Linked DNA regions of Homo sapiens: all the other regions are linked to region 5. Evidence: promoter capture Hi-C in 16 types of primary human blood cells and fetal thymus (Javierre and others, 2016). All regions are on one chromosome and are shown on one strand. Each heading gives the region's core, a stretch centred on a gene start or on the middle of the fragment in contact. The rest is flanking DNA. Distances are from core to core; before and after follow the strand shown.

Region 1 (2,700 bases), core at 57-2,556, 450 kb after region 5:
TGAGATTGGTCTTACAAGGAAGTGAGCACATGACACTGATGGAAACTGTCTTTGTCCCTTATTGTCAGGGACTCACTGTCAGTAGCTTTGTTCTTTGTCTAGCCCTTGCCTCTCCAGTTAATTATCAGGGAGATGTTATAGCCTAGGCTAGTCTATTTGAGGTTTGATCTTCACGTTGAGTTCTGGACTGGAGAATTTGTCTTCTTTCATCCCCCTTATTCCTCCCAGAGACGCTTGCAGGTAGCTTCGCTGCAGCCTAGCAGCTTTACCTTCTTCCCCATTGACGATATTTGAGTGCCTACCGTGTCCAGCACTGTTCTAGGTACTTGGGACACATCAGTGAACAAAGCAAAGATCCCTGCCACGGAGTTCTTAGTTGGTGAGGCTTTCTGAAGATGGTAGAGAAGCCTGGGGGAAGCTTGGGATGAGACTGTGTGTGTACCCTGCCTTGCGTGCCTTTTGTCCTCCCAGCCCAGAAGAATCAAAAAAGCACAGCTGCTGTCTTGAATATGTCTAATCAAATCCTATAATCAGTTTCAGATTATGATTATTTCTCTGTAAGTGGTGACCAGGAGGCAGATCAGCAGGAGTTCGACAAGTCCTCCACCATTCCAAGAAACAGCGACATCAGCCAGTCCTACCGACGGATGTTCCAAGCCAAGCGTCCAGCCTCAACTGCTGGCCTCCCCACCACCCTGGGACCTGCTATGGTCACTCCAGGGGTTGCAACTATCCGACGGACCCCTTCCACCAAGCCTTCTGTCCGCCGGGGAACCATTGGAGCTGGTCCCATCCCCATCAAGACACCCGTGATCCCTGTCAAGACCCCAACCGTCCCAGACCTCCCAGGGGTGTTGCCAGCCCCTCCAGATGGGCCAGAAGAGCGGGGGGAGCACAGCCCTGAGTCGCCATCTGTGGGTGAGGGCCCCCAAGGTGTCACCAGCATGCCCTCCTCAATGTGGAGCGGCCAAGCTTCCGTTAACCCTCCACTTCCAGGCCCGAAGCCCAGTATCCCTGAGGAGCACAGACAGGCAATTCCAGAAAGTGAAGCTGAAGACCAGGAACGGGAACCCCCAAGTGCCACTGTCTCCCCAGGCCAGATTCCAGAGAGTGACCCTGCAGACCTGAGCCCAAGGGATACTCCACAAGGAGAAGACATGCTGAACGCCATCCGAAGGGGCGTGAAACTGAAGAAGACCACGACAAACGATCGCTCAGCCCCTCGCTTTTCTTAGGTTCACAAGAAATGCGCCGGTGGGGAATGAACTGTTTCATTAATAAAACCTAATTTGTCTTGATCCATTCCACTCTATAATAAAACAAAAGATTTTGTAGGCAACTCGGAATATAGCTCTTTTGAAAGTACTCGACACCTTTAGATAAGAATTAAAACCAACCTATGTAACTGACATAATCTTGATCTTTTAATTTGTAAATATTGACAATTTTCTTTCTGCACATTTTAATCTTAGTTTCCCTTTTGATTTTTCTGAAGGTGCCAAATTCCATTTAACTTTTTTACAAGTCTTTGTAAAATTTTAAATGCATAAAGGGGGTTGGGGCAGGGGAACCACGAAGTAGTTAATTTTAGAAAAGGATTTACTATACTTCACTCTTCTTTTTTTTTCCCCACAAGCTTTTGTAGATGCATTGTAGTAGTCTAGCTTAGAAGCAAATGCAAGTTATTTTAATGTACAAACTAAATGGGTAAGAGGTAAAATCTTCATTTAAATATACTATGTTCTGGATGAAAAGAGCAGGAGTAACAATTGATGAGCAATATTCAGAGTGAAGTAAATCTGGAAATGGTAGACTGTGTTGGGATTGGGGGGAGGGCCATGGGAGGGGTACATCGTCAACATAGCCGATCCTGTTACATTTAAGAGTAGCCTCGTAGGTTGAATTTCTTCTGGTAGCTTCATGGTAAATGCATCCGAATAAGCCATACTGGATTGCAGTGTTTGTTTCTGTAGGGTGTTTAAGGACTTGACTTCCTTTCTCCCATGATTCCTCTGGACTGCACACAGCACCCACAACCAGCCCCATGCATGCTGCTGCCTCTGGGCAGTCGTAGAATCTCCCACTTCAGTTTCTCGTTGATTGTACTCACCTTTATGGAATCCAAATACATCCAAAAGGGTAAGGCAGTTTTAAAAATGTGAAAACATTTAAAAATGATAATAGCAGGGAATTCTTAGATTATAGTAAATGCCTTTTACTTAACTGTGCCCAGCAGGCTGGGTGCGTTAAAAAGCCCAAGTATTTTGAAAAAACTCGAACAGATTTGACAAGGGTAGCCAGCTTGGAGTCTAGCAACTTGCCAATGTGTTTACCAATCTGGGGGCTTGTTTTTCTTTTCTTCTTTCAAATAAATGGCAGTTAACTGGCTTTACAGTAAACATTGAAGAGAGGAGGATTTGTTTATTGTCACTGGGAATCTGACCACTATACTGTCCTTTTTTTGTATTCTGGGTAAATGTTTTTTGGAAAAGATTTGTCTTTTCTAAGTGGAAGTTAAATTTGTTATACTGCCCATCCCCTAAAGCCAACAGAGATTTGTAGATTTAAAGGGATCACATTTGAAGACAATAGTGTTTAAGAAAGCAAGCAAGTCCCTTAGCAGTCAGGTCATAACAGGGCACATTTCTGACCGAACCCTCTCAAGGCAGAGGAGGAGTTTGGTGGGTTTCATACACCCTG
Region 2 (2,700 bases), core at 140-2,639, 390 kb after region 5:
AGTTTAATAAGTTGTGTCTTGAGCTCTCTTTTGAGATCCTAGGCCCAGGGTAGCAAATACAGAGTCTGCATCCTTCCACTGTCCTGCGGTTGTAGCAGACATTACTAGCTGATCTAGCCAATCCATTTTCCATCTAGCGCATAGCTGCCCACAGCACCCTCCACACAGTGCCCCAGGCATCCATACACCTGATCAGAATTAGCCCAAGAGATAAACTGATTTACCATCCTTGCCTTTGTCTATGAAGAGCTCATTCTAAAAAAGTAACTAACATAAAAAACAAGGAAACAGCTGTTTGCATAGGCCTTAAGTGTTGGGAATTAGGACCCCCATCATACCCCAGGGCAGTGGGAAGGAACACTCAGGCCCACTGCTTGAAAAGATGTCGGCAACCTGAACATGCACAATACAGTGGCGATAAACCAGACCCTACTGGTTCTCTGCAGTTGGGCAATGACCTTGTCGGAGGAGGCGAGGCCATGATATTGCTGGAGGAGGCGAGGCCATGATGTTACCCTGGCTCCAGTGCTCATCCATGGGACATGTGGTCAGCCCCTGTGTCCCACAATCCCATTGCCTTCTGGCAACTTCCTAACTGATGACTGAGCCACAGTCAGGTTTCAGTCATTCATTGGTAGTTATTCTTATCTGCATTTTGTTAGAAGAACACAGTTAATAAAGTGGGTGTGGGGAAGAAAACAGTGCAGGAGAAGGAGAACTGGAAGAGGAACCAGAGTGGCTTGAGTTATCTAGTAAAGTCTTCATTACATGATGTGACCAGCTCTCAGAGGGGCATCTAATACAGAGCAGTTTAGTTTAACCTCAGAAGGTCATCAGGGTGCTAGAATCATGTCCCATTTTCATGGTAATTGGGCAAGACTGGGAAAATGTTTTGGGAATACACATTTTATCTTCCACTTCCAGCAGTGGCTTCTAACCACTGAGGACTCTCCACGTTACCAATCTCTACTGACCTACCTCAAGCTTTGTAAAATCTTATTTACCGAACAAATTACATTTTTAAGTAATAATTAAGCCCCCCCTTTTCTGTAGAGATATATAATAACTGTTAACCTGGGGTCATTTTTATCGGGCTTTATATAATTCCAACAGAAAGCAAAGGACTGTGAGTGCTTAAGTTAGCCTGAGCAGTAAAGAGGCTTTTAGACCTACTGAGAATAGTTTTTGGATTCACATTACCACTGCTTGACCTGAGACTCGATTTGGGAGCTAGAAACTAAAACCAGTTATGCCCTTCCATTGAATAGATGGAGGCTGGGAGGCTCGGGCTTGTCTAGCTTGTAGGGACTCAAGGGCACTTTGGTCGTGTCACGGTGCTGCTTTCTCTCCTGCGCAAGCCTCATACTTGCTTTCTCTGTTGAATGGTAAAAGCCAGCCTCTTGTTTGCTATTCCGGGGTTAGAATTTCAATTCCTTTTTTAAAAACTCTGTTTAGATCAGAAACCATCCAGACACTCATTCAGAAACCATCTGGGGAAGGTATGACTTGAGATAGAAATTGAAGAGATAGAGAGGAGGAGAAGAAGATAGTATACGAGTTAGTTTAAATGACCCCAGATGAGTTTGGCCGGGAAATCAACTGCAGAATGCATCCTCTGTCCCTGGCCTGTATCCCTCAAGGGCCTTTGATAGAGTCTTGGCTTAGTTGCAGCCACTTTTCCTCTAGAACTTTAACTCAGTAAAGGTGTGCAGTAAAAATGGGGAAGAGGGATGAGGAGGAGCCAGGAGAGAATCGAGGAAGAGCAAATATTACGAGCGTAGAACGCGAAGCTTGGCATGTCTGCCTGGTTCCACTTACTCACGTTTGTTGAGCTCCTTCTATGTCTGAAGCTGTTTCTAAAACGTCAGTTTCTAGAAAACAGGATCCTGAATTCAGCTAAGCATGATTCCCAGGGCCATCCCTGGGAAGCTGTCCTGAAGATGCCTCCTGCTAAGACAGGTTGCGGAGGGGAGTCAGTGGCTGAAAGGGTGATTTCAGGATAGATTGTCCTGGCAAATAAGGAGGGGTCCTCTGCATGAATAAGCAGTGTACCCTGCCAAAGGAAGCTGGCAGGAGGTGATTCCTGCTGAAGCCTGACAGTACATGTCCACCCTGAACTCATGGCCTTGGATGCAGACCGGCCAACTGTACACAGTTGAGCGAGGAAGTGGCGACAGCACGGTTTGAATCTGGCTGATAAAACAGATGTTCGGGGGAAGGGCTCTTATTTTCTCCCAGTTATAGGATCGGGGGTGGGGGAAGAAAACCTAATTCCCTATCTGCCAAATGTTTCTGTTGGTAATGTCCTGGCAACAGTGAGATGCCCCCAAGAATGGAGTGGTTGAAAGTTCTAGCTATCGACTCAGCCCTGGATGTAAATTCTGAATTCTGTGTGACCTTGGGCAAGTTACTTAACCTCTCTGAGTACCCTTGGCCTCATCTGTAAAATGAGGATAATGATACCTACTTTTGGCGGGGTGCAGGGGCTTGTGCCTGTAGTCCCGGCACTTTGGGAGGCTGAGGCAGGTGGATCACTTGAGATCATGAGTTTGAGACCAGCCTGGCCAACACGGTGAAACCCCGTCTCTACTAAAAATACAAAAATTAGCTGGGCGTAGTTGTGGGTGCCTGTAATCCCAGAATCGCTTGAACCCAGGAGGCAGAGGTTGCAGTGAGCCAAGATCATGCCATTGTACTCCA
Region 3 (2,700 bases), core at 78-2,577, 430 kb after region 5:
AGAGTTGAGAACATTCTGAGGTGGTCTGCAGCCCTCTGTGTTTTGTTATTAGAACATCATAGAATAGATCGAGAGACTAGAAGTAGCCCTCTAGACCAGCCCTGAGTCATGTGACCCAACAAGGCCCACAATTGGCCATGCTGTTTGGCTGCTTGCAGAGGAAAAGCAAGGGTTTACAGCTTTCCAGAGCTTCCCTGCTGGTGGACTCGTATCATACACACATTAAGTATATCTGGATTAATTTTGCACTAGCCAGCATTTTAAAATAGAAGAGAAAACTCACAGTTTTCATAGTGCTGGTGGCACCCAGCCTTCCCTCTGTAAGCCGTTGGCCACAGGTGGTGGGTCTCTGTGAACAGAGCACCTGCCCTGAGGCAGATTCCAGGAGAGAATGGGAGAATGTTTTTACAGGTTTCTTGTCTACTAAAAACACATGAAACCAGTGGCTCAGGTGGCCAGATTAATGTATGGTGATGATTACTCCTACATCCTTGAGGAAGAAATTGAAGGCATGGTAAAGAATTATTCTGAGGGGTGGAGGTAGTGACTACATGGAAGAATGGGTGAGTGGGTCACCTTGAAAATATGCTGAAACACCCAGGCGCTGTGGCTCATGTCTGTAATCCCAGCACTTTGGGAGGCTGAGGTGGGAGGATCACTTGAGGCCAGGAGTTCAAGACCGTCTGGCCAATAAAGCAAGACCCAATCTTTATAAAAAAAAATTGAAAAACTAGCTGGGCATGGTGGTGCACGCTGGTAGTCCCAGCTGCTTAAGAGGCTGAGGCTGCAATGAGCTATGATCATTCCACTGCACTCCAGCCTGAGTGACAGAGCAAGACTCTGTCTCCAAAAAGGAGAAAATTATGCAGAGACTTCTCAAGCAGCAAATTTCTTATATATAGTAGTTCCCCCTTCTCCTCAGGGGATATGTTCCAAGACCCCCCGTGGATGCCTAAAACTGCAGATAGTACCCGAACCTTACATATACTGTGGTTTTTCCCATGCATACATGTCTATGGTAAAGTTTAATACATAATTTAGGCACAGTAAGAGATTAACAACAATAATAATAGAACAATTATAACAATATACTGTAATAAAAGTCATGCGAATGTAGTCTCTTTCTCTCTTTCAAAATACCGTATTTTACCACACCATGGGTAGCTGAAACTTTGGAAAGCAAAACCACAGAGGAGGGGCCAGTGTAGTATAATCGTTGGGTAGCACCCCTCCGTGGACTTAGATACATACTATCTACACATTTGTACTCACTTGACTGATGAGAGTTATATACACAAAGCTGTCCATACTGTATTTACTGGCCATCTAAGGCATTTTCAAGGGTGATCTTTGACTATAATTTTCTCATAATGTGCTAACTTAGAACTTATTCCCTGTCTGAGAAGTGACTTTTCCTTACTAAAATCTGACTACCTTTTCTATTGGGATGTGCTTTAAGCCTGATTGCCTCTTGCTCCAAATTAAACTTTCTCCTCTGCTTATGAGTGAAAAATACAGAATATGTTCCTACATCCAAGGCAATTTTCCCTGACCCTTTCTTTCTTCAGACCAAATGGTTCATTGCATTTAATGTTCTCTACATCACTAAGAGGGATAGATGGAAACTGCAGGGCCCTTCCTGCGAGGCGGTGGGGCAGAGAATAGGTTCAGTGTTAAGGGAATTAGGCAGTGTGGCTCAACCCTGCCTCTGTACCATTCTTTCTGTGACCTTAGGTGAGTCCCTTGACTTCTCTAGGACTTGGTCTCCATTGAAACATGAGCAGATTGGCCCAATTGGATAACCCCTTCCAGCTCTAACATTTTGTGTTGAAACTATTAAACAGACATTTATCAAGCACCTGCTGTATACACACATGACATTGTACTAGGGGCTGTGCTGGGAAAGACCAAAATCCTGCCCTGAAGAAGTTTAGGAAGTATCTCTCTGGTTTGAGTGATAGGTAAGGCCCCTGCATAGGCAGCCCAAGGTGGAAGCTCATGAGCTGGTGTCCCCTGCTGTCACCCTGCTGTCCCCACCTACAGATCAGATTTGTAGTAGCTGCTCCTTTGGACACAGTGCCTCTTGGTCCATGTTTATCTTTTAGGGCAGCAGGCTTCTTTTGCAAGAGGCCATGGTCTGGGGGCCATACTCTGTGTCACACTACTCTGCCATTGTAGGGAGAACTGGTACAGGCAATATGGTAAATAAATGGATTTGGCTGTGTTCTAATAAAACTTTATTTGCAAAGATGGTTTGCTGACCATGTGTTAGTCATTCAAAAGACTAACACCCTGTCTTAAACTCCAGAAGTGGTTGCCTGCACCTAACTGGGGTCTGTGGACCTGGCCAGATAATTCCTAAACATGGGCCAGGCTCCGCATAGACCCCACTTTCAGTTTTTCATCATCAGAGACCTGTCTGGAGGTCTTGTTATTACTGGGCTTGTTCTACAGCAAGAGCATTCAAGACTCTCCACTAGAGAGTCAAAGGAACTGCCAAGGATTCCCATGGGCCCCCAGAGCCAGGAGAGCGGATGCTTGCCACCTTTGTCTTTAGGAGCAGATCCTTCTATCCAGACAGAGGCTCTTTGATTGAGATTGACCCAACAAAGCCAGCCCGTGCCCGTTTTTGGAAACACCCACAGGCTCTTACCTTGTTTCCACATCTCTTAGCCTCTTCAGAATGTTCTGCAAGGAAAG
Region 4 (2,700 bases), core at 117-2,616, 410 kb after region 5:
AAAGATGGTGGCTTATATTTTACAATGTGGTGAAATCTGACTTGTTTGTAAAGTTCTCTAAAGACCTCCATGATCCCTGCTAGTCTTCTATCCCTCACCTTTGCCTCTGTTGCTTTTTCAGGTGGGACCAGGGAGATTGGATCTGCTCTCACCAGGATGTGCATGAGGCACAGAAGCATTGAAGCCAAGCTGAGGCAGTTTTCGAGGTGAGGAGCATGTTTTGGCCCCGATCGCCAACACCCTTGCAGATTTCAGGTTAAGGAAGCAGTCATGTGTGGCACACAGCATTTAAATCCCCACAATCTGTCTGACTTGGCTCATTCATTGCCTGAGTATTGTTAGGCATCTGCTGCATACCAGGCACTGGTCGAGGCCCTGGGGGTGCAGCAGATCACCAGCCAGCCAGGCCCCTGCCTTCACAGAGCCTGTGCTCCTGCATGGGTCTCTCCTTACCCTTTGTCTGTGCAAGGAGCCGGTGCAGCCTGCTGAGGTCTTTTGGGCCCCCACTGCCCTGCGGGAGCCTCGCAAGAAGAGGGGCTGTGAAATTGGAGAGTGAGATGTGCCTTGGTATCCTGTGTGCATCCTCCAGACTCACTGAGGGATGTGGCAGCTCACAGACCACTCCACACCGCCAGCTTCCCATCTGGCTTCCAGGCATCCAGAATAGGGAAGAAATGGTAGTAGCTGGCACCGGAATTGGGTTACAAATGTTCAAGTGAAAATGGACATTGCTTTCCAAGCAGATCAGCATCATTCAGCAGTTTTATGTGATTCTGTTTGGGAGACTGCACAAAATGAAGGGGCACACCTTCAGAGACCTTCACCCCTCAGTAACCCCGAGGCTGGCAGTGCAGCTCGAGAATTTTCTGGGTCTCGTCACTCTTCTCTTTCTCCAGGCTGTGCATACTTAGTGTATATTTATGACCTGTCATGCCGCATGCACAGCAGAATCTTGTGGGTCTTTTTTAAAAATAGTGATGCTGGGCCCCACCCTCAAAGTCTCCATTGGGGGTGAGATAAGGCCCAGGTGTCTTTGCATTTTGGGGGTCCCTGTTGTGCAGCTCTCAGAGGGGTGACCCCTGTGGTTCTGCAACTTGGCTTGTTAATACAAACACTAGAATATCACAGGGAAAATGGGAAGAAGGGTCACTCCCACCAGTCACATTGACAGCTTCTTAGTAGTCATTGAAAAACATTCTTGGGGCCAGGCGCGGTGGCTCTCGCCTGTAATCCCAGCACTTTGGGAGGCCAAGGCAGGCGGCTCATGAGGTCAGGAGATCAAGACCATCCTGGCCAACATGGTGAAAACCCATCTCTACTAAAATACAAAAAATTAGTTGGGCATGGTGATGTGTTCCTGTAGTCCCAGCTACCTGGGAGGCTGAGGCAGGGGAATCGCTTGAACCTGGGAGGTGGTGGTTGCAGTGAGCCGAGATCGCGCCACTGCACTCCAGCCTGGTGACAGAGCGAGACTCTGTCTTAAAAGAAAAGCATTCTTGGAACATGGCTGTTCTGGAGCCCCGGGGTTTAGATGAGAACGTTTCGGGTAATTGTGATTTAGGTATGTTTTGACAACCACATTTAAATCCTGACAACAGAATGTATCTATTTAATTTCTCCCTTTTTCCCCCCCGCTTGGTAAAAGCGCTTTAATTGATTGTCTGATAAACCCACTTCAAGAACAGATGGAAGAATGGAAGAAAGTGGCCAACCAGCTGGATAAAGACCACGCAAAAGGTACAGGGGCGAGATGTCTAGCGCATCACTGCACGCTGGGGGGCGCTGTGGGAAGTTGCCAGCTGCTGCCTGGCCCCTCTGCTAGGTTTATTGGTGTCACCAAAACAGCCAAGGGCCCACTCTGTCCCTACTCTCCTGTAGGCACGTCCGTGTCAGGGGATGAGGAGAACAAAGTGATCCCGTTGTGAGGCTGAGTGCTGTTTCTTTGGTGTGAAACAACATTCAGCAGCTGATAGTCTGATCCCTCAGTGGCATGAATTGTATTCAGCTGAATTAAGAATAAATCACAGGGTGGGCGCGGTGGCTCAGACCTGTAATCCCGGCACTTTGGGAGGCCGAGGCGGGCGGATCACTTGAGGTCAGGAGTTTGAGACCAGCCTGGCCAACATGTTGAAACCCCATCTCTACTAAAAACACAAAAATTAGCCAAGCATGGTGGTGGGTGCCTGTAATCCCAGCTACTTGGGAGGCTGAGACACAAAAATCGCTTGAACCCGGGAGTCAGAGGTTGCAGTGAGCCAAGATTGCACCATTGTACTCCAGCCTGGACGACAGAGTGAGACTCCATCTCAAAAAACAAAAAAAAAGAAAAAGAAGAAATCATAGGCCGGGTGCAGTGGCTCACACCTGTAATTCCAGCACTTCAGGAGGCTCAGGTGGGCAGATCACTTGAGTCCAGGAGTCTGAGACCAGCCTGGCCAACTTGGTGAAACCCTATGGCTACTAAAAATACAAAAAGTATCCAGGTGTGGTGGTGCATGCCTGTAATCCCAACTACTCGGGAGGCTGAGACACGAGAATTGTTTGAACCCAGGAGGCAGAGGTTGCAGTAAGCAGAGATTGCACCACTGCACTCCAGCCTGGGTGACAGAGCAAGACACTGCCTCCCCCTAACCCTCCAAAGAAGTGAAAATCATCATGGCAGGTTTAAATGCCAAACATTTATACTTAAGGCATTTCAGC
Region 5 (2,700 bases), core at 1-2,500:
AGTGAACCCAATCCTACTCCTAAATAAGACATTCATCTGCCCGCTTTGAAATCAACCTACCCTCCTGGCCTCGAGCTGCTCCTTATTTTCTGATTCAGGGGGGGATTTGGCCCAGAAGAAGCCAATGAAAGGCAGGCCTGAGAGAATATCCGAGAAGAGGGCGAACTGGGAGCCGCTCTGCTGGCGCCCGAGGAGACCCCCGTTTCGGTGGCGACAGCGGTAGGAGAGCACCAGGCCCAGCGAGAGGAACACCAGCACGCACAACAGGACCTCCCTGTTGGCCAAAGTGATGAAGTCCCCGAACTTCTTATAAAAATAGGTGAAAGTGGCAATGCCCAGAAAAGTCCACATGGTTCCAAGGCTTCTTTGGTGGCACCGGTCAAGGCGGAGATTATCTGCTCGAGTGGGTTTAAGGTTCTCCCCAAAATGAGGTACCAAGAGGAGCACGGAGAGCCGGCCAGACTCCAGTAAACAGTGTCCCAGGACGAGAAGTCCGATCAGACCAGTTTTTAAAAATCATATAAAGTTAGTGTAAAAGTATGTGAAGCCAAGTTGTATAGGGCGTAGAAAGCAGTATTTAAAAATCGCCTGCTGGAACAGCTCCCGAGCAGACTCGCTCCTCCTCGCCCAGGAAATCCAGATATTCCCTTTTTTTCTTTTTTGATGGTGTTCCCTGAGCGGTTGCTGCGGGTGATGGATACTCTTCTGATACTGGCTCTTCGTGCTATAATTTCTTTTCTCACCAAGAGCAGGTGCCCTTTCAGAAGGGAATGGGAGTGGAGGGAGGGTCACAGAAACACCTCGGCACTGGGGGAAACGTGGCCTAGCCTCTGGCGACGGCGAGCAGCGGCCGGAAGGCACGGGGGCTGCGGGCCGGCGCGGGTTCAGAGGCTTCTTTTTCCGCGGACGGAGACACTGTACAGCCCAACCTCGGGAAAACGCCAACGCCGACGCCTTCTCCAACAAAAGATGGCCTCGGACTCAAGAGTGCGGCTCCAGGGCAATGCAGCCCCAACCTAAAGATTTAGAGGCCTCCCGTTTCGCTGGCCCCCAGAGCCGCCCACCGCGACTGCACTTCCCCACCGATAAAAGGTGGTTTCCAGGGTACCTCCCTCAGATGGCGGCGGCGGCTCCCGACGGCTTCCTCACCAGCATCCCTCGCGGGCGGCGGCTCTCGCCAGCGCGGCGCGGCCCCAGTAACCAGAGTAACCGTCGCACGCCCCCACTCGCCGCCAGGCTCCACGCGTCTCAGCCAGCTGGGCGGGCTCGGCCCAGACGAGGGACCGGGGGCGGGGCTCAGGCGCGAGTCCGCCCATACCGCGCGCCCCGCGTGCTGCCCCGCCCCCTACCCCTGCTCCTGCCGCCGCCGGCCAATGAGGGCGCGCACCGCGCGGTAGGCCGAGATGGCGCTATGCCGCGTTTGGCCAATCGGAGGCGGCGCAACCTGCGCGGCGACGCCCCGAAAGGCGCTAGGGCGATGTTGCGTGGTGCGGGTTGGGGCGTGGGGATGGGCGCGGGCCGGCTCCGGCGTGGGTGGGGCCAGGGGTCGCCTAGGAGGCGCTCTGGGGCCGGGATCGGCGTCGGGGTCGGGGTTGGGGTTGGTTCACCGCAGCAGCCCCAGCTCCTGCGCCCTCCCTGGACTGAGGTGTGCTCGCTTTGAGGAGAAGCCTGGAGTGATCCGCTGCCTCGGGTCGGAACGTTTCCATTCATTCCGCTAGCATTTATTGAGCGCTTATGATATGTCAGTCCCCGGAGTCCGAAAGAGGAATCAGACACAGCTTCCCTGCCCTGTGTATGTGGAGAGGGCGGAAGGGAGGGCCATGAGTGCGTGGAGAGCCTGACATTCCAGCTGAAGCTGGAAGAATGAGTAGGCTTTTGCCTTAAGAAGAAAAGGAGAGGACGCTCCAGGTGCTCAGGCTAGAGATACACGGATGCGCCCAGCCCGTTCTCTCAAGACCAGAAACGTTGGGGGTGGGGGCTCGGAGGCAAAGAAGTCAAATAGTCGTGTCATAGGTGTCCTGAGAAGGGGGTGGTTAGAGAGGGAGCCATGGAAACCCAAGAGGTGGTCCTTCCCTTGGCCTGGAGAAGTCTGGTGAGGCGCCCAGGGGGAGGTTACACGGTGTCCAGGACAAGCAGTCCGAGGGAGCAAAAGTGTGCAAAAGTCTCGGAGTGAGACAGCCCTTATTCTACTACGATGAAACTTACCTAAAATTTATTGAGGCTTAAGACCTCAGTGTCTTTGCTCATCCTGTTTCTTAACTCTGGACTTCCTTCTTTAACCCCTATGATAATAGGTGCAAATCCCTTCTGCCTTTTGGAGCGTGGCTGCATTGTCACCTCTTCCACCAAATCGCCATTGACCTTCACCAAGTCACATAACTTTATTCATACTTTTTAATCTCTAGATTCCCTAAAGATCTGTGTCTGATAAGATCACCCACAGCACCTAGCACAATGCTCTGCCCTTAATTTATCCTCCATAACATGTATTTAATGAATGATGAACGACACTGGCGCATAAAAGCAAGACTAGGCAACTAGAGTTAGGAGACCCAGATTCTGGCTACCGCTAACCAGACTGTGACCTTTTACAGATGTTACAAGTCACTCTGCCTCTGTGGGGAGAAGGCAACTTCTTCATGAACTCGAACATCCTTTGCAATTCTGTATCAGATACTTGGCAGGGTTTAAAAAAACATG
Region 6 (2,700 bases), core at 20-2,519, 480 kb after region 5:
AATTCAATACCTTGCATTTATAGTGTAGTAGTTAAAAGCATAGTTAGGGCATAACAAACGTGGTATCCAGCCCCTACTTCATTTTTCATAGCTTTATAACCTGGAGTCTTTTATCTCACTAGACTTCAGTTTTCTCATCTGTAAAATGAGAATGATAATAGTACTTAATTAATAGAGTTGTTATGAAGGCTAAATAAAATATTGAGTGTAAAGCATTTGGTATTATACCTGGCATAAACAACCTTCATTATGTGTATGATGGAAGCCACCACCATGAGATCATCATCATCGTTATCTTTTTTTTTTTTTTTTTTTTTTGAGACGGAGTCTCGCTCTGTCACCCAGACTGGAGTGCAGTGGCATGATCTCGGCTCACTGCAAGCTCTGCCTCCCGGGTTCACGCCATTCTCCTGCCTCAGCCTCCCGAGTAGCTGGGACTACAGGCGCCCGCCACCACACCCGGCTAATTTTTTTGTATTTTTAGTAGAGACGGGGTTTCACCACGTTGGCCAGGATGGTCTCGATCTCCTGACTTCGTGATCTGCCAGCCTTGGCTTCCCAAAGTGCTGGGATTACAGGCTTGAGCCACCGCGCCAGGCCCATCATCGTTATTTTATACACTGGGAGAGGAGATGATGCCCTCTTGTCTTGCCGTTTTTTTCAACTATTTAGTAAAGTTGTAGGTAAAATAAAAAGTATACTTGGTTAGTATTTTACGTAATTTAAATACTGGATGTAGGCATCTGTTCTAGTATTAAAGTTTTAGGTATGTTAGTAACAAGAAAGTTTTCCCAATATTTTTATTAGTCTTTTTTTTTTTTTCTGGAGGCGAGTCTCGCTCTGTCCCCCAGGCTGGAGTGCAGTGGCACGATCTCGGCTCACTGCAACCTCTGCCTCCCGGGTTCAAGTGATTCTCCTGCCTCAGCCTCCCAAGTAGCTGGGACTACAGGGGCCTGCCACCACGCCTGGCTAATTTTTGTATTTTCAGTAGAGACGGGGTTTCGCCATGTTGGCCAGGATGGTCTCAAACTCCTGACCACGGGTGATCCATCTGCCTCAGCCTCCCAAAGTGCTGGGATTATAGGCGTGAGCCACTGCGCCCTGCCTTACATCTTCTGCTTTACAGATAGTCAAGGATTTAATTATGGCTATGTTTCCGGAATGGATATGCAATAGCTAATCATATTAAAGATTTAAATAGCTATATGAAAATATCTATTTATCATTTGCAATTCTACCTTCGTTTTGTGTTTTCTCCCTAAGTTGTACCTAGAATGAATTCATTTTAGTGAGACTTTTGAAGTATGCTTTACAAAAATATACATCATTATACTTGAATCACGTCTTCAGAAGAAGGCGCCCCTTACGCAGCACTGCTTCAGTGCTCTCACTATCAACACATAACTCTTTAGTGACATTTTCATTTTAACAGATTAGGAAAGATGGCATTCTAATTACTGAGCGGACTCTAATGGGTCTATGCAGAAGTATGCTTATTTGCCAAAAGCCATACGTTTTCCTACAGAGAATTCATTAGCATGCATTAACTCACTGATTCTCAAACCTTTTGCTCTCAAAACCACTTCACATTCTTTATTATTGAGGACCCCCAAAGAGCTTTTGTTTGTGTGAGTCTTACCTACTGATACATACTATATTAAAAATTAAAACAAAATATTTTAAATATTCCTTTTAAAATAAGAAACTACTGGATAACATAAATAGCATATTTTTATGAAAAATAAGTATATTCCAGAACAAAAAAATTAGCAACATGAGTACAGTTGTATGTTTTTTCAAATCTCTAATGACTGTGTTACTAGAAGCCTGCTGAATTTTCATATCTTTTTCTGTAGTCAGTCTCTGGTGGTGTCAAACATCGTGTAGCTTCTTGAATACCTTGTGGACACTTGCAGTAGAGTGAGAGTGAAAAAGACAGAAAGTGTCTTATTATTGTTAGGAAAATAGTTTTGACTTCACATACCTACTGGGAGTTACCAGACTACACCTGGAGAACTGTTGAATCAATCAACACTATTGAATCATTGATTTCGTTATTCACGCTTTCATAACACCTGATCTCTGTCCTCAAGGAATGCATTGTCTAATAGGAAAGGTGGGTATATAAATACATTTTAACAGAGTCTAGTGATGAATTCTGCACCTCTACATGCACACACACATACATACATCCCTGAGGTGTAGTCAGGCACTACTCTGCATAGGAGGTAATCTCCCAGCTGAATTTTAAAGGGTAGGTGTGTGGCAGTCACAGAGGAAAGAGCATTCTGGAATAAGGAAGTGGTAGGAAGGCATGTTTAGGAAACTGTTATTGCTGCCCTATTAAAGTCAGCTTATTTTATTTTCTTTCTATTTCAGTTTATGATTACAGGTGGAAATCTACAAGACAGTAAAGATGCACTGCATTTGGCACAAACAAATGGTATCCTCATATTTCTTTTACCAAAAAAAAAATGAATTAAGTAATTTTGAAGAAGTCTTTCTGAAAACTGCTTCAGGTACAATACAATGGATCATGACTGGAAACAATAGGAAAATGGACTGATTTAAATGGGACATGATTAAGATGACAAAATTCAAAGTACTCATTGGTATATCAGATGTTTATAAAACTGTTTCATACTGCTCAATGAAGATTATTTTAAGATTTCAGCTAATGAGAATAAAGTTCTCCAGGTA
Region 7 (2,700 bases), core at 22-2,521, 500 kb after region 5:
AAGCAACCCTCCCACCTCAGCCTCCTGAGTAGCTGGTATTACTGGTGCATGCCACCACACCTGGCTATTTTTTAAATTTTTAGTTGAGACAGGGTCTTGCTATGTGCCCAGGCTGGGCTTCAAGTTTAAGAAAGCCAAGTAAATAAAAATATGAGGGAGGTTAATCCAGGAAAACAAAAAGTAGTACAAGAAAAGAAATGTTAAGCACAGTATACCACATGAGCAAACCTATGTAGATAATCTAATAGTTCCGTCAGTTGCAGACCCTTCCATGTGTTTCAATTTGGACTAGTTCCTATTTTTAGATCCCATGTATTCCTTGCGTGTTTGTTTTAGTGGAACACATTCTATAACATCCTCTGAGGATGTTTTCATGGGAATTAAGTTTCTTTTAAATACAAGCCAGTATTTCTATTTAATAAGGTTTCCCATTTAGTGATGAGCAACTACACGATTCTGAAGTCAAGTTTGAAATACATCTTCCCATTTTGAAAATGAATTTTTTTTCTGCTCTTCCTCTTACAAGTTAGCCTGGATAGTTAATGAAAGGGGAGAGAACCCCACTTTTTTTTTTTTTTTTTTGAGAGGGACTCTCACTCAGTCGCCCAGGCTGGAGTGCAGTGGCGCGATCTTGGCTCACTGCAGGCTCCGCCTCCCGGGTTCACGCCATTCTCCTGCCTCAGCTTCCCGAGTAGCTGGGATTACAGGTGCCCGCCACTACACCTGGCTATTTTTTTTGTTTTTGTATTTTTAGTAGAGACAGGGATTCACTGTGTTAGCCGGGATGGTCTCGACCTCCTGACCTCGTGATCTGCCCGTCTCGGCCTCCCAAAGTGCTGGGATTACAGGTGTGAGCCACCACACCCAGCCCCCCACTTTCAATGGATAGTTCTCTTGAATAAAATTCAAGATCAGAAATCATTTTCATTGAGAATTTATACTGTCCCATCAGTAGGTTCCAGTGTTGATGAAAAGTTGCTACTCTGATTCCTAATCCTTTACCTGTGACCTAGTTTTCTTCTCTTGTGAAAGGTTTTAGTTTTTCATCTCTGATGTGAAATTTCACGAAGGTGTGTGTTGATGGTTTTCATCACGCCTGGTGTTGCTTTTTCATTAGCCCTTCCAGTGGGGGGCACATCTTTACCCGTCCTTGGAATTTGATTTTTCTCTTCTGTTCTTTTCTTGGGCATACTAGACTGATAACTCGTATTCTTTTTATTCTATTTCCATTGTTTCCCTCCTTCCAAAAAAAGTGCTATATTTTGTAACCCTTTTTATGAAATTTACTTCAACTTTTGTTTTCAATTTCTGAATACTCTATTTTTATACTGCAGTGTCTTCTCATCTCTCTAAAGACATGAATTATAGTTTAAAGTTACTTTCTGCTTGTCTTCCTGCATTTGTTTCCTCACAGTCACCTTTTCTTCTTTCCTTTGGTCTCTGTGATGATGGAAACTTTCTTCAAATGTCAGGCAGTCCTTCACTGTCTATTTAAAAAAAGAAAAAAAAAAGCCATTTGGAAGCTCTCTAGAAGGCATTCCAGCAACTGGCAGGCTCAGATGGCCAACTGACTTTTTGCTAGGGATTCCCAAATGTCAGTTTGTAGAGATCTTTTTCTGGGTTGGTTCAGTTTCTCCAGAAAGGGATCCTGTGTTCTCTGCTGGAAAAGTGGGGAACAGTGGAGGGAAGGGGTTTGTAAATGTCCCTGACAGTATTTTGGAGCAGGATGGGTTAGAGGATCTCACTGTTTAGTGGGCTGCCCCAGTCTCCATGCTCAGGCCTGTGCCTGACGCCTGTACTCCTCTGTGCTTGTTGTTCTCCAGCTGTTTCTGATGTGGATTGTCTTGAGACCCAGCACCTCTTTCTCTGCACCAAGTCACAGATACATAACCTAGGAACCCCATCTTCTCTTGGAGTTTTCTCAAAGAATCTCCATTTCAGTCCCTGCCTTACTCCACTTTCTAGGGACTGTATCTACTTCTAGGTTTGTTTGTCTTTCTTTCCAGGCACATAGCATTTAAGTTACTTGGCACTTAAACACTGGTCTTTTATCATTTCTCTGTCCACTTTCAGCTATATGTTGTGATTTGGGGTAACATATGTCTCCTAGTTTCATTTAAAAAAATCCTGGTTTTCTCCCTGTAAGTTTGGTTTTGTTTTTTTTTTTTTAAGAGAAGGGGGTAGAAGATCTTTATTTTACCAACTTAAAACCATAATTCTTAGTTGTTGTTTTTTTTTTTTGAGACAGGGTCTCACTCTGCCTCTCAGGCTGGACGACTTACTGTAGCCCCGACCTCCTGGGCTCAGGCGATCCTCCCAAGTATAATAGCTGAGACCACAAGCTCCTATCACCATGCTTGGCTAATGTCTGTACTTTTTGTAGAGATGGGGTTTCACCATGTTGCCCAGGCTGGTCTCAAACTTCTGAGCTCAAGCTATCCACCTGCCTCTGCCTCCCAGAGTGCTTGGATTACAGGCATGAGCCACCGTACCTGGCTCCTGTCTTAGATATTTCTAAATGATCTTGAGTTCATTAGGATGTTAGTTTAAGCTAATCACAAAAGATTCTTTTCTCCTACATTAATATTAGCTTCAGAATTAATAGGTTAGTCATTTATTAAAGTGGATGTTTATATTCTTATTTTCAAATCTAATTCATTATCATCTTAATCTGAGTCTCTGAGGAATGATAACTTAATC

The links. The method cuts DNA at HindIII sites, captures the fragments that hold promoters and counts their contacts. A CHiCAGO score of 5 or more calls a contact.
Region 1: a contact is called between a fragment that was not itself captured here and the fragment with the promoter of SQLE in region 5, in 16 of 17 cell types (erythroblasts, megakaryocytes, naive B cells and 13 more). The highest score is 22.0, in erythroblasts.
Region 2: a fragment that was not itself captured here is called in contact with the fragment with the promoter of SQLE in region 5 in 10 of 17 cell types (megakaryocytes, total B cells, M1 macrophages and 7 more); the score reaches 12.3 in megakaryocytes.
Region 3: a contact is called between a fragment that was not itself captured here and the fragment with the promoter of SQLE in region 5, in 16 of 17 cell types (erythroblasts, megakaryocytes, naive B cells and 13 more). The highest score is 26.6, in erythroblasts.
Region 4: a contact is called between a fragment that was not itself captured here and the fragment with the promoter of SQLE in region 5, in 16 of 17 cell types (megakaryocytes, naive B cells, erythroblasts and 13 more). The highest score is 27.5, in megakaryocytes.
Region 6: a fragment that was not itself captured here is called in contact with the fragment with the promoter of SQLE in region 5 in 9 of 17 cell types (erythroblasts, naive B cells, total B cells and 6 more); the score reaches 12.7 in erythroblasts.
Region 7: a fragment that was not itself captured here is called in contact with the fragment with the promoter of SQLE in region 5 in 3 of 17 cell types (naive B cells, total B cells and erythroblasts); the score reaches 6.2 in naive B cells.

What each region holds. Positions count from the first base shown.
Region 1 is chr8:124,551,527-124,554,226 of GRCh38, reverse strand. MTSS1 (MTSS I-BAR domain containing 1) reads left to right here. Exons shown (of 14, transcript NM_014751.6): 14 at 535-2,700. The coding sequence ends at 1,235. Among named protein-coding and RNA genes, the nearest start is that of NDUFB9, 14 kb to the right of the region's middle. The HindIII fragment of the contact is 664 bases long and covers 975-1,638 here.
Region 2 is chr8:124,606,220-124,608,919 of GRCh38, reverse strand. All of the region lies in intron 3 of MTSS1 (MTSS I-BAR domain containing 1), which reads left to right. It overlaps LOC124902016 (a long non-coding RNA gene), which reads right to left and starts at 2,183. Exons shown (of 2, transcript XR_007061088.1): 1 at 1,823-2,183. RefSeq lists an enhancer at 1,238-1,587. The HindIII fragment of the contact is 806 bases long and covers 987-1,792 here.
Region 3 is chr8:124,568,868-124,571,567 of GRCh38, reverse strand. The region is part of intron 6 of MTSS1 (MTSS I-BAR domain containing 1); the gene reads left to right. LOC105375740 (a long non-coding RNA gene) reads right to left here and starts at 2,685. Exons shown (of 2, transcript XR_928608.3): 1 at 2,654-2,685. The HindIII fragment of the contact is 8,842 bases long and covers 1-2,700 here.
Region 4 is chr8:124,588,657-124,591,356 of GRCh38, reverse strand. MTSS1 (MTSS I-BAR domain containing 1) reads left to right here. Exons shown (of 14, transcript NM_014751.6): 4 at 122-206; 5 at 1,646-1,737. Among named protein-coding and RNA genes, the nearest start is that of NDUFB9, 51 kb to the right of the region's middle. The HindIII fragment of the contact is 2,738 bases long and covers 1-2,700 here.
Region 5 is chr8:124,997,055-124,999,754 of GRCh38, reverse strand. It overlaps SQLE (squalene epoxidase), which reads right to left and starts at 1,250. Exons shown (of 11, transcript NM_003129.4): 1 at 61-1,250. The coding sequence starts at 351. It overlaps SQLE-DT (SQLE divergent transcript), which reads left to right and starts at 1,557. Exons shown (of 2, transcript NR_134457.1): 1 at 1,557-1,792; 2 at 2,595-2,700. RefSeq lists enhancers at 890-939, 1,870-1,929 and a silencer at 1,150-1,649. The HindIII fragment of the contact is 7,996 bases long and covers 1-2,700 here.
Region 6 is chr8:124,518,561-124,521,260 of GRCh38, reverse strand. It overlaps TATDN1 (TatD DNase domain containing 1), which reads left to right. Exons shown (of 12, transcript NM_032026.4): 4 at 2,380-2,443. Among named protein-coding and RNA genes, the nearest start is that of MIR6844, 11 kb to the right of the region's middle. The HindIII fragment of the contact is 6,152 bases long and covers 1-2,700 here.
Region 7 is chr8:124,500,223-124,502,922 of GRCh38, reverse strand. The region is part of intron 9 of TATDN1 (TatD DNase domain containing 1); the gene reads left to right. Among named protein-coding and RNA genes, the nearest start is that of MIR6844, 7.0 kb to the left of the region's middle. The HindIII fragment of the contact is 6,052 bases long and covers 1-2,700 here.